Regions from separate parts of the Homo sapiens genome. Here regions 1 and 2 are each linked to region 3. The links are contacts of gene promoters, found by promoter capture Hi-C in blood cells and fetal thymus (Javierre and others, 2016). All regions are on one chromosome and are shown on one strand. The core of a region is centred on a gene start or on the middle of the fragment in contact, and the rest is flanking DNA. Distances in the headings are between cores, read along the strand shown. Region 1 overlaps CDK14 (cyclin dependent kinase 14). Region 2 has its middle 14 kb from the start of PTTG1IP2. Region 3 holds the start of CDK14 (cyclin dependent kinase 14).

Region 1 (3,985 bases), core at 251-2,750, 150 kb after region 3:
AGTTTTTCAGACTGTTCAATTTATTTTTCTGTTTAATGCGCCTCCCCACAACACTGCTTTCTCTTTCAAAGGAGTTGGAACCGTCTAATGAGAATTCATTTCCAGGTGAATTATGTGATTAATTTCTCATAGAGATTTAGTGTTGGGAATAGGAGTATTGATTTGACAATGCCAAATATATTGGCCATTCTTGGGGTCTTTTTAAGTTAAGCTTTTACTCCATCTTTCAGAAGTCTCTTAGTTAAACAAAATGGCAAACTTTTCTTTTTCTTTCTTCCTGTCTGCTTTGGCATCATGCTGCATATATTTTCATATCGAGAAACAACTGTCTCCTCCTTTTCTTCTTTCTCTCCATTGCTCTCTGGGGGTCAGGGCACAGATTTGGATTCTTGAAAAGCTTGTCCTCATGTGTTTCTGATTGACCTCCTTACTCTCCCTTATTAATTAAGGACAGAGAGTTACTGTATTTAGTGACATGTAGTTGTAGATAACTTAATGCAATCTCTGCAACAACCACAGAAGTCACAAGCTTTGTTTTACCTTTATAACTTTACCAAATGATGTTGCAAAATAATTTTCTATACTGTCCCTGTTATCTCTTTTCAAAATCTTTATAGAAGATAGGACTTTTTTGTCTGAGACAGCATTTCGCCCTGTTGCCCAGGCTGGAGTACAGTGGCTTGATAACGGCTCATTGCAGCCTCAACCTCCTGGGCTCAAACAGTCCTCTTGCCTTAGCCTCCTGAGTAACTGGGACTACAAGCCCATGCCATCATGTCTGGCTATTTTTTTTAAAAAACTCTTTTGCAGAAACGGAATTTTCCTGTATTGCCCAGGCTGGTTTTAAACTCCTGGGCTTAAGTGATCCTCTGGCCTCGGCCACCCAAAGTGTTGGGATTACAGGCATGAACCACTGCACCCAGCCAGATTAGAATATTGTAACTTAAGTAATTAAATAAGAAGATGTAGAAGAGAAAAATTCTCTGAAGGATCATTCCAAAGACATAGTTGGAAATTTTGATTATGTGCTAATTTAGGTAATCTTAGGATTTTCAGGAGTGTGGTCTTATATCTGTTTGTTCATGTTTCTTAAGTTTAGAAGATGAAATATTCCTTATCAAGAAAGATATGTAAGGCAAAAATACTGTGAAGTCAAAAGTAATAGTATTAATTTTGAGAGTTGTAAAAAAAAGTTTGTAAAAATGGTGCAGGGAGCCCTCTTCATTCCACACCCGGGCAGATCTCCAGGCCTTTGGAGCACCCGCTTGCCTCGTTCTATATCTTGAGCTGCCCCACCCCTTCTGTCCAGAGATCCTGGTATAGCAGAGCCTTCTTCACTCCATGCCCAGTCAGATCTCCAAGCATTCAAAGCACCTGCTCACCTCATCTGGATTGGCAACCTCAGTTGCCCCACCCTTCCTTTGCAGACATCCAGGTGCAGGAGGGGCCCTTTCTGCTTTACATCCAGGCAGATCTCCAGGCAGTTAGAGCACCTGCTCACTTTGTTCAGCATCCTGAGTCACTCACTCTTCCTGTGCAGAGACCATGGTGCAGCTAGGCCTCTGCTCCACACCCAGGCAGATCTCCAGGCATTTGGAGCACCAGTTCACCTGGAATGGCAGCTTAAGCTGCCTCACCCTTTCTACACAAAAACTCTGGTGTAGCAGGTTCCTCTCTCCTCCATGCCCCAGCAAATCTCCAGGGATCTGGAGCACTTACACTCCTGGATTAGGAGTTTAGGCTGCCTCCACTTCCTCTGCAGAGACTTGGGGCTAAGGATGTTTCCCAGCTTCATGTTTAGGCACACTCTGGGTGCTTGGTGGCTTTCTACTGGATTCTCCATCAGTGCTGGTGCTTGTGCCTGCTATCAGGGGATGACCATCTTGCCTCATGCCCCCAGGACTGAGAAGGGAACTCAGAACACTATGGGCTCCACAGATCAGCCCATTGCCTAAGGCAACAGAGAGCATCTCCCCATAAATAAGGATCAAGTATATATCCAGACACATTGGCTGCAGTAGGTTCTTACTGATAAGTGCCATCTACTGGCTGTAGGTCAAACCAAACAGCCGTATGTAAAAGCTGCTGATAGAAATGCATAGGGCTATAGAAGCAAAGCCAAAAGATCCTACCCAGCATTCTCTGCAGTTGCAACACAGAGGGAGTGGGGAGAAGGGAAGGGGAAAGAAAACACACACACACACACACACACACACACACACACACACACACACACACCAATAATATTACAGAGAAAGAAAAAGAAAAAATGCAATCTGTACAAAAATAATTACAAAAATTATAGTGCCAACATCTCCAGATGAGAAGGAACCAGCAAAAGAATTTTGTTATTGTGAAAAATCTGAATGTCTTGGCACCGCTGAAGGATCACACTAACTCTCCAGCAATAATTCCTGACCAAAATGGAAACTCAGAAATGACAGATAAATAATTGAAAGCATGGATTACAAGGAAGCTTAGTGAGATCCAAGACATGATTCAAAATCTACACAAAGAAACTTCTAAATCAATCCAGGAAATGAAGAAGGAGATATAACATCTTAAAAGGAAATCAGTCAGCGTTTCTAGAATTGAAAAGCTCACTTAAGGAATTTCAATACAATTGAGGCCGGACGTGGTGGCTCACACTTGTAATCCCAGCACTTTGGGAGGCCAAGGCGAGCGGATCATCTGAGGTCAGGAGTTTGAAACCAGCCTGGCCAATATGATGAAACCCCATCTCTACTAAAAACAGAAAAATTAGCTAGGTGTGGTGGCACATGCCTGTAATCTCAGCTACTCCAGAGGCTGAGGCATGAGAATAGCTTGAACCTGCGAGGCGGAGGTTGCAGTGAGCTGAGATCACACCACTGCACTCCAGCCTGGGCAACAGAGCGAGACTGTCTCCAAAAAAAAAGAAAAAAAAAGAAAAGAAGAAAACAGTTGAAAGCTTCAATATCTTAGACCAAGTGGAAGAAATAATTTCAGAGCTTGAAGACCAATCTTCTTAACCCAGACAAAAATAATATTTTTTTAAATGAACAAAATCTTTGAGAAATATGGGATAATGTAAAGTGATCAAACCTTCAAATTATTGGCATTCCTAAGTGAGACAGAGAAAAGGTAAACAACCTGGAAAACATATTTGAGGGAATAATCCCAGAAAAATCCCCTAACCTTGCTAGAGAGGTGAATATCCAGATTCAAAAAATCTGGAGAACATCTGGGAGATACTATATAAAATGAACACCACCAAGACTTACTCACCAGGATGTCTAAGGTCAATGCTAAAGAAAAAATGTTAGAAAGAAAAAAGCAAGATCACATATAAAGGGAACACCATTAAGCTAACAGCAGATTTCTCAGAAGAAACCTTACAAGCCAGGAGAGTTTGGGGGCCTGTTTTCACCATTCTTAAAATAAATCTCGGCCAAGAATTTCATATCCCACCAAGATAAGCCTCATACGCAAAGGAGTAATAAAATGTTTTCCAGACAAGCAAGTGCTGAGGGAATTTCTTACCACTAGATCAGCCTTACAAGAGATCCTTAAGGGTGTTCTAAACATGGAAATGTAAGAACAATACCCACTACCACAAAAACACACATAAGTACATGGCCCACAGATTCTGTAAAGGCACTATACAATAGAAACTATAATGCAACCAAGTAACAACTTCATGATAGGCTCAAAATGCTATATATCAATATTAACTTTGAATATAAACTGACTAAACCTCACACTTTTAAAGGGCATAGAATTGTAAGTTGGATTAAGGAAAGAAAAACAAGACCTATCTCTCTGCTGTTTTCAGGAGACCCATCTCACATGTGATTACACAAGTAGGCTCAAAGTAAAGGGTTGGAGAAAGATCTATCACTCAAATGGAAAACAAACAAGAGCAGGGGTCACTATTTTTATATCAGATAAAACAGACTTTAAGCCAACAACAATAAAAAAGGAGAAAGAAGGGCGTTACATAATG
Region 2 (4,153 bases), core at 459-2,958, 140 kb before region 3:
TTTTTCCATAACAACAAAATACCAAGGAAACAATCTTGAGTCATCATGCTCTCTTTCCCCAAGTTGGAAATATACAAGAGAATATGACATTTGGAGATCTGCTAGACTATCTGCTTTAGGATTTCAAGACTGATAGTACTACTAAAAAATTGATGCAACCCTGTCATTAAGCCAACTGTAGTAATTAGACTGCAGTTGATGAGTATACTTGTATGTTTGTCTTAAATGTCATATCAGACAACTTCCACAGTTTAGTGATTGACAGTTATAATGGTCAGAACAAAGGAACACCAGTCATCATAAACATAATTTCTCTGTGTCTGGGGGAAGGAGGTATAGACCCTGGCTGTAACAGTACTTGCTAATTAAACTGTAGTATACTGGAGACTTTTAATCTGCCTGCCTTCAACAGGCTGTTTGTTTATTAAAGTTCAACTGTTGGACTACATTCAAGGGCTTTCAGTGTTGACTTTAGTACTACTTTTGAAGATAAACATAACTCTTCACTTTCATTTAAAGCCTTTGTAAGAACTTTTAACGCTGAAAGAAAAGATAAGTGAGCTATTATTATTCTTAAAATATACTTCAAATTTTATTTTTAAAAGGCAAACTGTGGGGATTTTTCTCTTATTATTTAAATTTGTTTCTCATATAAACATATAGCCAGGAATCAGGAAAAATGATCTTGTTTGCTTTATTGTTGTATTTATTGTATTCAGGATTGGAATTTAATGTATTGAATTTCGATGGAATTCATTGGGCATAAGGCATAACATAAAATAGAGTACAGTTGCCATTTTTTCCTCCAGCAAAATTTTAAGTCATGGAGATAAATAATGAGTATTCATTTATTTATTCAAAAATATGTATTTATTAGTTCCTCTTAAGTACATTTTTTTGTGTTGGAATACTTACAACCATGGATGAGACATTTAAGAACTCAATCTGTACATAAAATAGAAGAGAGGACAATTCATTTTGTGAAGGGAAGTTATGCTAACTATTCACTAGCTGCTATGATTTCGTCATGTCCCCCAAAGTTATGTGTTGGAAATTTAATTCCCAATGCAACAATGTTGAGAGGTGGGACCTTTAAGAGGTGATTAGGTCATGAGGGGTCTGCCCTTATGAATGGATTAATGCCATTATCTAGGGAGTCGGTTAGTTATCATGGGAGTAGGTTCCTAATAAAAAGGAGTTTGGCTCCCTTTCTTCTCTCACATGTGTGCTTTCTTCCCCTTCTGCCTTCTACCACGGGACGATGCAGCAAGAAGGCCCTTAACCTTGGACTTTCTAGCCCCCAGAACTGTGAGCCAAATAAATTTCTGTTCATTATAAATTACCTAGCCTCAGGTATTTCACTATAGCAGTACAAAACAGATCAAGACACTGGCTAACCCTCCAAATTCATTCTCCATCCTTCTCTGCCCTACGTCGACCTACAGATTGCATTATCTGAGTTTCTTTGCTCCTCTGACTTTGGGAGAATAGATAGTAGGAGAAGAGAAAGATTTGGGTATTTATTCCCCCTACTCGCTCAGCCAAACTATGTTTCCTTTACCTTATGACCACAGCTTCTTTTGGGCAATCCTTCAGTTCTCTCTGATTTCAGCCCTTCCATTCCCTGCTCTGTCTCTTCAGTTGCAGGGATGGTAATAGCTTCTCTTCGTTGTTAGTCACTGGGTGCTTCACCGTCCTTGGTTATTGTTACTCTTGACACACCTCTGTATTTAGTCCCTTCATTGAATTCTCTTCAATTAACCTTCCTGCTGGGCTGCTTACTGTCACAGACAGGAATATGGAAGGTAAAGGAAGAGAATACAGGGATTTCTTTACCTTCAAATTTTCAGCACGTAGATCGTGATAGATCTGAACAAAGCTACTATCCAGATAAAAAACATGCAATTTCTGTTGCTGCCAACAGATGGCATTAGTAGTCATAGTTGGTTATTTGGGGCCATGAAGTGTTCCGTTCTTGACTCTGTTAGCTGCTTTTCTCTATTTTTAGAAAATGTTTTACAAATATTAACTCCATCCACACCTGATAAATGCAAAACAGTAAGAGTATTGGGAAAAGCTATTTTAGCAGGCATACATTTGTTTATGATAAAGCCAAGAATAGAGATTATTCAAAACAGATGGAAAATAGAAAGAAAAGAACAAAGTTTGCATATGCACAAAGAATGAACTTTTGAAAACAGGAATAATTTTAAAGGGACAGAAAAGCATTGTGTCTAATTGTTATGGACTGAATTTTGTCCTCTCAAAATTCATTTATTGATGGACTAATCCCTAATGTGGCTATATTTGGAGATAGGGCTTTGAGGAGTTAATTAAGGTTAAATGAAGTCACAAGAATGGGGCCCTAACCCAATAGAACTGGTGTCCTTATGGGAAGAGGAAAAGACAACGGGAGTATATGTGCACAGAAGAAAGACCACGTGAGGACACAGCAAAAAGGTGGCCCTCTGTGAGCCAAGGAGAGAAACCTCAGGAGAAACCAACCCTGCCAGCAATTTGATCTTGGACTTTTAGCCTCCAGAGAAGTAAATTTGTGAAAAATAAATTTCTGTTGTTAAAGCCACCCAATCTGTGGGATTTTGTTATAGCACCCCTAGCAGACCAATACACAAACCCGTGGACAGTAATCCCCAAGAGACTAAGTGACTAAAGCAATGAAAAACATAGTATTTGCATGTGTGGCTAAAGGCTCAGTATTAATATCAAATGCTTATTAGCATTAGGAGAGGGCTAGGAACTTGTTCCAAAACTGAAAATGCGGAATGACCCTGGTGGCGTCTCCCATAGCTGACTGGATGGTTATCGATGCTATGAATCCAATTAGGAAAACAGGGGAAAGAACGAATTTGATGGGGAAAATGAGTCTGACTTGGGGCATACTGAGTTTGAGTTGTCTTAAGGACATTCAAGTAGAGACTTCTGAAAGAACTTGGAATATTAGACCAGAATTAAGGTGATAAATGATTTGGGGATAAAAATTCAATTGACACATATGGTTGGGTTTTAGTTTTAGTTTTTCTGAGACAGGGTCCCACTCTGTCACCCAGGCTGGAGTGCAGCATTGTGATCTCGGCTCACTGCAACCTCGGCCTCCCGGGCTCAAGCAATCCTCCCTCCTCAGCCCCCCAAGCAGTTGGGACTATGGGTACCCACCACCACGCCTGGCTAATTTTTATGTATTTTTTGTAGAGACAGGGTTTTGCCATGTTGCCCAGGCTGGTCTCGAACTCCTGGACTCAAGCGACCCGCCTGCCTCAGTCTCCCAAAGTGCTGGGATTACAGGCATGAGCCACAGTGCCTGACCTAAAACATATGTATTGAGCACCTACTGTGTGCTAGGCACTGTCTAATGCTTAGGTTACCTCAGTGAACAAAAGAGGCAAAAACCCCTATCTCATGGAGCTGAAATTCTACTGGACAGGAGAAAGAAAAAAACAAAAAGCAATAACATAATGAGTATGTTATACAGTATTTTAGGAGACAATTCAATGCCTTAGGGCAACAGAGCATGCCAAGGGAATTGGAGATGCTGGTGTGAGGAGGTACAGGTTGCAATATTCTCTAACGTCATTCAGATTAGGTCTCATTGAGAAGATGGCATTTGAACAAAGACTTGAAGGTAAAAGAGGTAGCCGAGGGGCTGTCTGAAAAAAGTGTGGTCCAGGAGAGGGAATAAACACTGTAAAGGCCCTAGGGTGACAGCATGCCTGGTGTATCAGAGAGACAGCAAAGATTCCAGCAAGGCTGTAGCCTAATGAAAGAAGAGGAGAGTAATAGTAGATGATGACAGAGGCACAAGGTGGAGGAGGTGTCAGGTCACTCAGGCTAAGTCTTTTGTAAGGAGTTTGGGTATTACTCTGAGTGAAATGGAAGCTTCCAAATAGAGGTGTTACCAGGTCTTTCATTTTAAAATAATTACTGGCTGCTGTATTACCAATAAGCAGTGAGAAGAAGGAAGGGCAAGGGTGGGAGCAAGGAGACCAGTTGGGGCACAATTGCAGTAACAGAAGAGGAGGTAGAAGTTTGCTAATTCGAAGGTAGAGGTGATTTACTAATGAACTATATGTGGAGTTTCAGAGAATTAAAGGAATCAAGGATGACTTCAAGAGTTTTAAACTGGGAAACAAGAAGG
Region 3 (4,584 bases), core at 1,579-4,078:
TTTGACAAACATTAATTTACATTCTCTATGCAACAGGCACTGTGTGTTTCATATCTTAGGGTCCCTGAACTTACACTGTTTAAGATGAAGGCAAATGTGAAACAAATAATAGTAGAAAGAGTTGAATAAGTATACATATCTTAAAAGCGTCAAGTTAAAAATGTCCTTCTTTGCATTGCAGTTTCTTGCAAAATTTGCTCTTTTAAAATATAACCAGGAAAGGGAGCAAGATGAGCATATAATGGAAAGTTGGTTACTCATAATTGCCAAGCTTTATTTGGCCCAGGCTTAACAGGTGTTTCTCCTGCCAGGTATACTGTTGTAACTAGAGGAAGTTGTTCTGGAGTTGGGAGAGCTGAAGTTTTGAAGTGGGGTAGGGAAAAGGAAAATATTCATTATGTTTATATTAGTATTTTTATTATTATAAAAGTAAAGCATTCTTAGAACATTCAAACTATACTTAAAGGTATAAATTGCAAAGGGAAAAGTTCTCTCTGTTCTGGATATACAATCAACAGTTTTCTGTTCTTTTTTCCAGAAATATTCTATGCATATAGGAACACATAGATGTGTATACATTTTTTCCACAAATGGTTTAAAATATTAAACATGCTTTTCTCCCAAATTAGCCTGTACATATTCACACATCAGTACACACTGATCTCATTTAAGAAAATTGGTGCATACCTTTGTATGCTTTTACCATAATTTAAGAAGAAGCTGACTACTTTTTTTAAGTCAGAAATACTGGGAAGGGGAAGAGCATGGTGGTGGTGCACGCCTGTAATCCCAGAACTTTGGGAGGTCAAGGCGGGCGGATTGCTTGAGCTCAAGAGTAGGAGACCAGCGTCGGTAACATGATGAAACCCCGTTTCTACAAAAATTAGCCAGGCGTGGTGGTGCGCACCCGTAGTCCCAGCTATTTAGGAGGCTGAGGTGGGAGGATGGCTTGAGCCCAGGAGAGAAGGTTGCAGTCAGCCGAGATGGCGCCACTGCACTCCAGCCTGGGCGACAGGCCCTGTCTCGGAAAAAAAAAAAAAAATACTGCGAAGGTAAAATAAACATATATTTAACATATTATATATTTGAAACAGCCATTGTCACAGTGGATAACAGTCACAGGTGTATAATAGTGAAAGTTCGTTAAATTAATATTTCTTCGTGTTTGTTGACTCGTACAACCCATTAGTGTTTTGATTGGTTGCATTTGTCTTTTCATTCATAACTGCTGAAAACTTTCTCCCTAACTAACCTGAGGAAGTGGTAAAAGTCAAACTTTTTTCCGGTATGAGGCCACCCTTGGTGCTGTCTGTAATTATCTAGACATGGCAGCCAGGATCCAACAGCTTTGCGTTTTAACTCATATGGTCTTTCCTGGCGAATTCCTTGCCCCCCTCTGCTCCCCACTTAGCTTGACTTCCTGTCTTTTATCATCCGCAATCTATCAAGATCCTACAATGTGCTCAGTGTAGGGCGGAACAAATCACTGTTTTACCTCACAATTTAAGGAAGGCAGGGGGCTAGTTTTTAAGATAAAAATCTTTTAACAAAACATAAACTCCCCAAAATTTCCTACAAGCCAAACAGCATTGTCACACCCTCACAAGCTCTTATTACTTACACAGCCAAATGACTCAAGATTACTAACGTTTCTATTCATAAGGAGTTTGCTGGCCTCAGATCAACACAATCAAGCCCTCCCCCACCTTCCTTCTCTCTCCCCTGGGAGACTGACGTTTGGAACTCACGCCGCACCAGGTTTTTTCAGAATGAAGACGATGTGTGTTCGCTGCTGGAACTGTTTGTCCTGGGATTTTATAAACACCTCCCCCACTCCTTTTTAAAGTTCTGTTTTTGAGGTGGGGGAAAAGGAGGTCGGAATCTGTTTAGCCTTTAAATCTCCCAATTCAGAAATATATTCTAAGAATTTAATAGAAAAAGACCAAGGGCTGTGTCTGCTATTTACTGCAGAACTGGGTATTCCTATCAGAAATCACCTACATGTGTCACCAAGATCAGAGACAAGGATGAGGGAAACAGCATGATCCCTGCCTTCTGGAGGGTTACAGTTGAAGCTTCCGCTGCTTCTGCACTTGACCTCAAAACAAACAAAAAACCCACCGCAAACAACAACAAAAAAATCCAGGCCCACCTTTCCCCTTGGATCTTTCACTTGACAGCTTTCTCGGCCCAAAATAAGGCACCCTACATCTGAATGCATCCCTAAGGCCTTACCGCACCCAGTCCAGGAGGCAGTCCTGGCAGCTGCCCTCCACCGAACTCCGCGCTTTTTCACACACGCTCGTGGAAGGAGAAAACCGCTCAAACAACTGGACTCGGCCCGTTTCCTTTCGGTAACCTCCCCACAGCCCAACACGCTGTCCCCAGACGCTGCCCGCTCCCACCCCGGTCCCTTCGTGATCCTCCCGCGCGCGGGCGGGGCGGGGGAGGAGCGCGGGGGCGGCCGGGAGGGGCGCGGCCGGGAGGGGGCGCCGCCGGGGCGCGAGCCAGACACAGAGGGCCGCGGAGGACGCGGGAGGCGAGCGGGGAGCCGAGGTCGTGCTAGGATCCCGCGCCCAGGGGCCTTCGTCGAGGGAGGGGCGTGGCGGCGGCAGCAGGAGGGCAGCAGGAGCTGTCAGGCTGGCGGTTCCGCGCCGCGGCTCCTTCTGCGCTGCGCCCGCAACTCTGGGCTGAGAACTTCTCCCGCCGGCCCACTCGCCCTCGCCCCGCGCACTCGGCGCCAGGCGACTCCCGCACCTTGTACCCGGCCCGCCCCGCCTCCTCCTTCGGCCGCACCACTCCCCCTGCCGGCCGCGCTTCTCTCCGTTACAAAGGAGGGAAAATGAGCCGGGCGGCGGCGGCGCGGCGCGGGGCCACCACGGCGGCGGCGAGCGCGGCCGCCCCCGGCACCACGTAAACCGCCCCCGCCCGCCCAGCTGCGGCCCAGGCCGGAGCGGAGCCTGCCGTCCTCCGCCTGCCTGCTGCTCGCCTCCCTAGACCTGCGCGTCGCTTCCCGGCCCGCCGAGGAGGTGGTGGAGGAGGAGGCGCCGCTTTCCCCGCGGCGCGCGCCCTCGCCGTTGTCTGAGCTGTGCCTGGACCAGTTTGGGGAAGTTGTCGGGGCTCCGCGTCGCCCAGATGTGTGACCTCATTGAGCCGCAGCCGGCCGAGAAGATCGGCAAGATGAAGAAGTTGCGGAGAACTTTGTCGGAGAGTTTCAGTCGCATTGGTGAGTAGCGCGCTGCCCCCGGCCCCCCCAGCGCCCGCTCCCCTCGGCCTGCGCCCCCGCCGCGTTCCTGGCACCAGCCATGCAGCTGCCAGCGGGGCTGGCGTGGGGTGCGTTGTAGGCGGGGATCGAGGGCACAGTGCTAGGGACCCGGGGGAGGGCAAGGACGTAAAGGAAAGAGACCCCTCTTCCTCAGGATCTGGGGGTTCATTTGTAGATTCTCTCAAGCCTACAATATGGGTTCTCCCCTCCTCCGCCACTAGTGCTCGCCCTTTCGCGCGCGTGGGGGACGGGCGAGGGGACCCCTCGGCCCCCACCGCGCAAGGGGCTGCGCGGCTGCTTGGGCCACTTGTTATTTTTTGCGCACAGGCTTGGATATTGGGCGTTTAGTCAGTAATTTAGCTTTGGAAATTGGTGAAACGTTAGACTGTGCCCTGGTATTGTTTAACGTATCCAACCTAAAGGGAAGTGGGACAGTTACCTTGGGACCTATTGTTCGGTACTTCGGGTCCTGGAAAGCGAGATTTGGGTGTTCAGTCTCGAGGTCTCTGAATCTTCCCGCTGCTGGAGAGAAATGCGCGCTGTGGAGTTGTCTGGACATTTAGGAATGTCTCTCGAACTTGTTCCATTTAATAGAGCTCAGGGGCTGTTGTCTTTAAACCAAACAACAAACCAACTGACCAACAGTGTTTAGGACAGTGACGAATAAATGCATGTCACAGGTTGTAATAGGGTGACAGCAGTATCACGTGGAATGGGTTTGTTAGATTTTGAGTACTGGGCATAGAAAACCCCTTTTAACCTGAAGAGTTAGCTGCCTCCCCTACTGTCACAACTTTCACTAATAACATGTAACTGCCCTGAGCAAGAGAATGCTATAGACACAAAAGATAACCCCTGCGAGTCCCTAGGAAGCTGCCTAGTCTTTGTTTCACTTGTTTTAAATGTCATCCATGTTAACGAAAGTGTTAATGGAAATTAAACATAAAGGTACTTAATTCCTTAAAATAAAACCCTGGGATGCACATGAGTGTTACAGATATCCTTCCACCCATTCATTGTAAGATATGCAAACTTTCTTCAAGTGAGAGAGTACAATGGATCGAAATTTAGCCAAGTTTTTTTTTTTTTTTTTGTCTTTCGACTTAAAATTTTGTGTTGGTATGCAAAATCTTTCCCCAGATGACTGTAAAGTTATGGTATGAAACCAATCTTTAGTTTTATTTATTGCATGTATTGGATATTAATTTCACTCTTCAGAATTAGGGATACATGTGGAGAGTCCCTGCATTAAGATGAAGTTTGAAGCCAAGAAGAGTGTGAGAGAGGGAAATGTTGAGTCGTGTGCATTATTAACGAGG

The links. The method cuts DNA at HindIII sites, captures the fragments that hold promoters and counts their contacts. A CHiCAGO score of 5 or more calls a contact.
Region 1: a fragment that was not itself captured here is called in contact with the fragment with the promoter of CDK14 in region 3 in 2 of 17 cell types (total B cells and naive B cells); the score reaches 7.2 in total B cells.
Region 2: a contact is called between a fragment that was not itself captured here and the fragment with the promoter of CDK14 in region 3, in 4 of 17 cell types (M1 macrophages, M2 macrophages, monocytes and 1 more). The highest score is 10.6, in M1 macrophages.

Annotation. Positions count from the first base shown.
Region 1 is chr7:90,747,964-90,751,948 of GRCh38, forward strand. The region is part of intron 4 of CDK14 (cyclin dependent kinase 14); the gene reads left to right. Among named protein-coding and RNA genes, the nearest start is that of CDK14, 150 kb to the left of the region's middle. RefSeq lists an enhancer at 1,781-1,840. The HindIII fragment of the contact is 1,947 bases long and covers 528-2,474 here.
Region 2 is chr7:90,453,696-90,457,848 of GRCh38, forward strand. No RefSeq gene overlaps it. Among named protein-coding and RNA genes, the nearest start is that of PTTG1IP2, 14 kb to the right of the region's middle. The HindIII fragment of the contact is 4,367 bases long and covers 1-3,892 here.
Region 3 is chr7:90,593,493-90,598,076 of GRCh38, forward strand. It overlaps CDK14 (cyclin dependent kinase 14), which reads left to right and starts at 2,829. Exons shown (of 15, transcript NM_001287135.2): 1 at 2,829-3,226. The coding sequence starts at 3,136. RefSeq lists silencers at 2,437-2,636, 2,657-2,966, 3,157-3,356, 3,417-3,466. The HindIII fragment of the contact is 4,165 bases long and covers 2,074-4,584 here.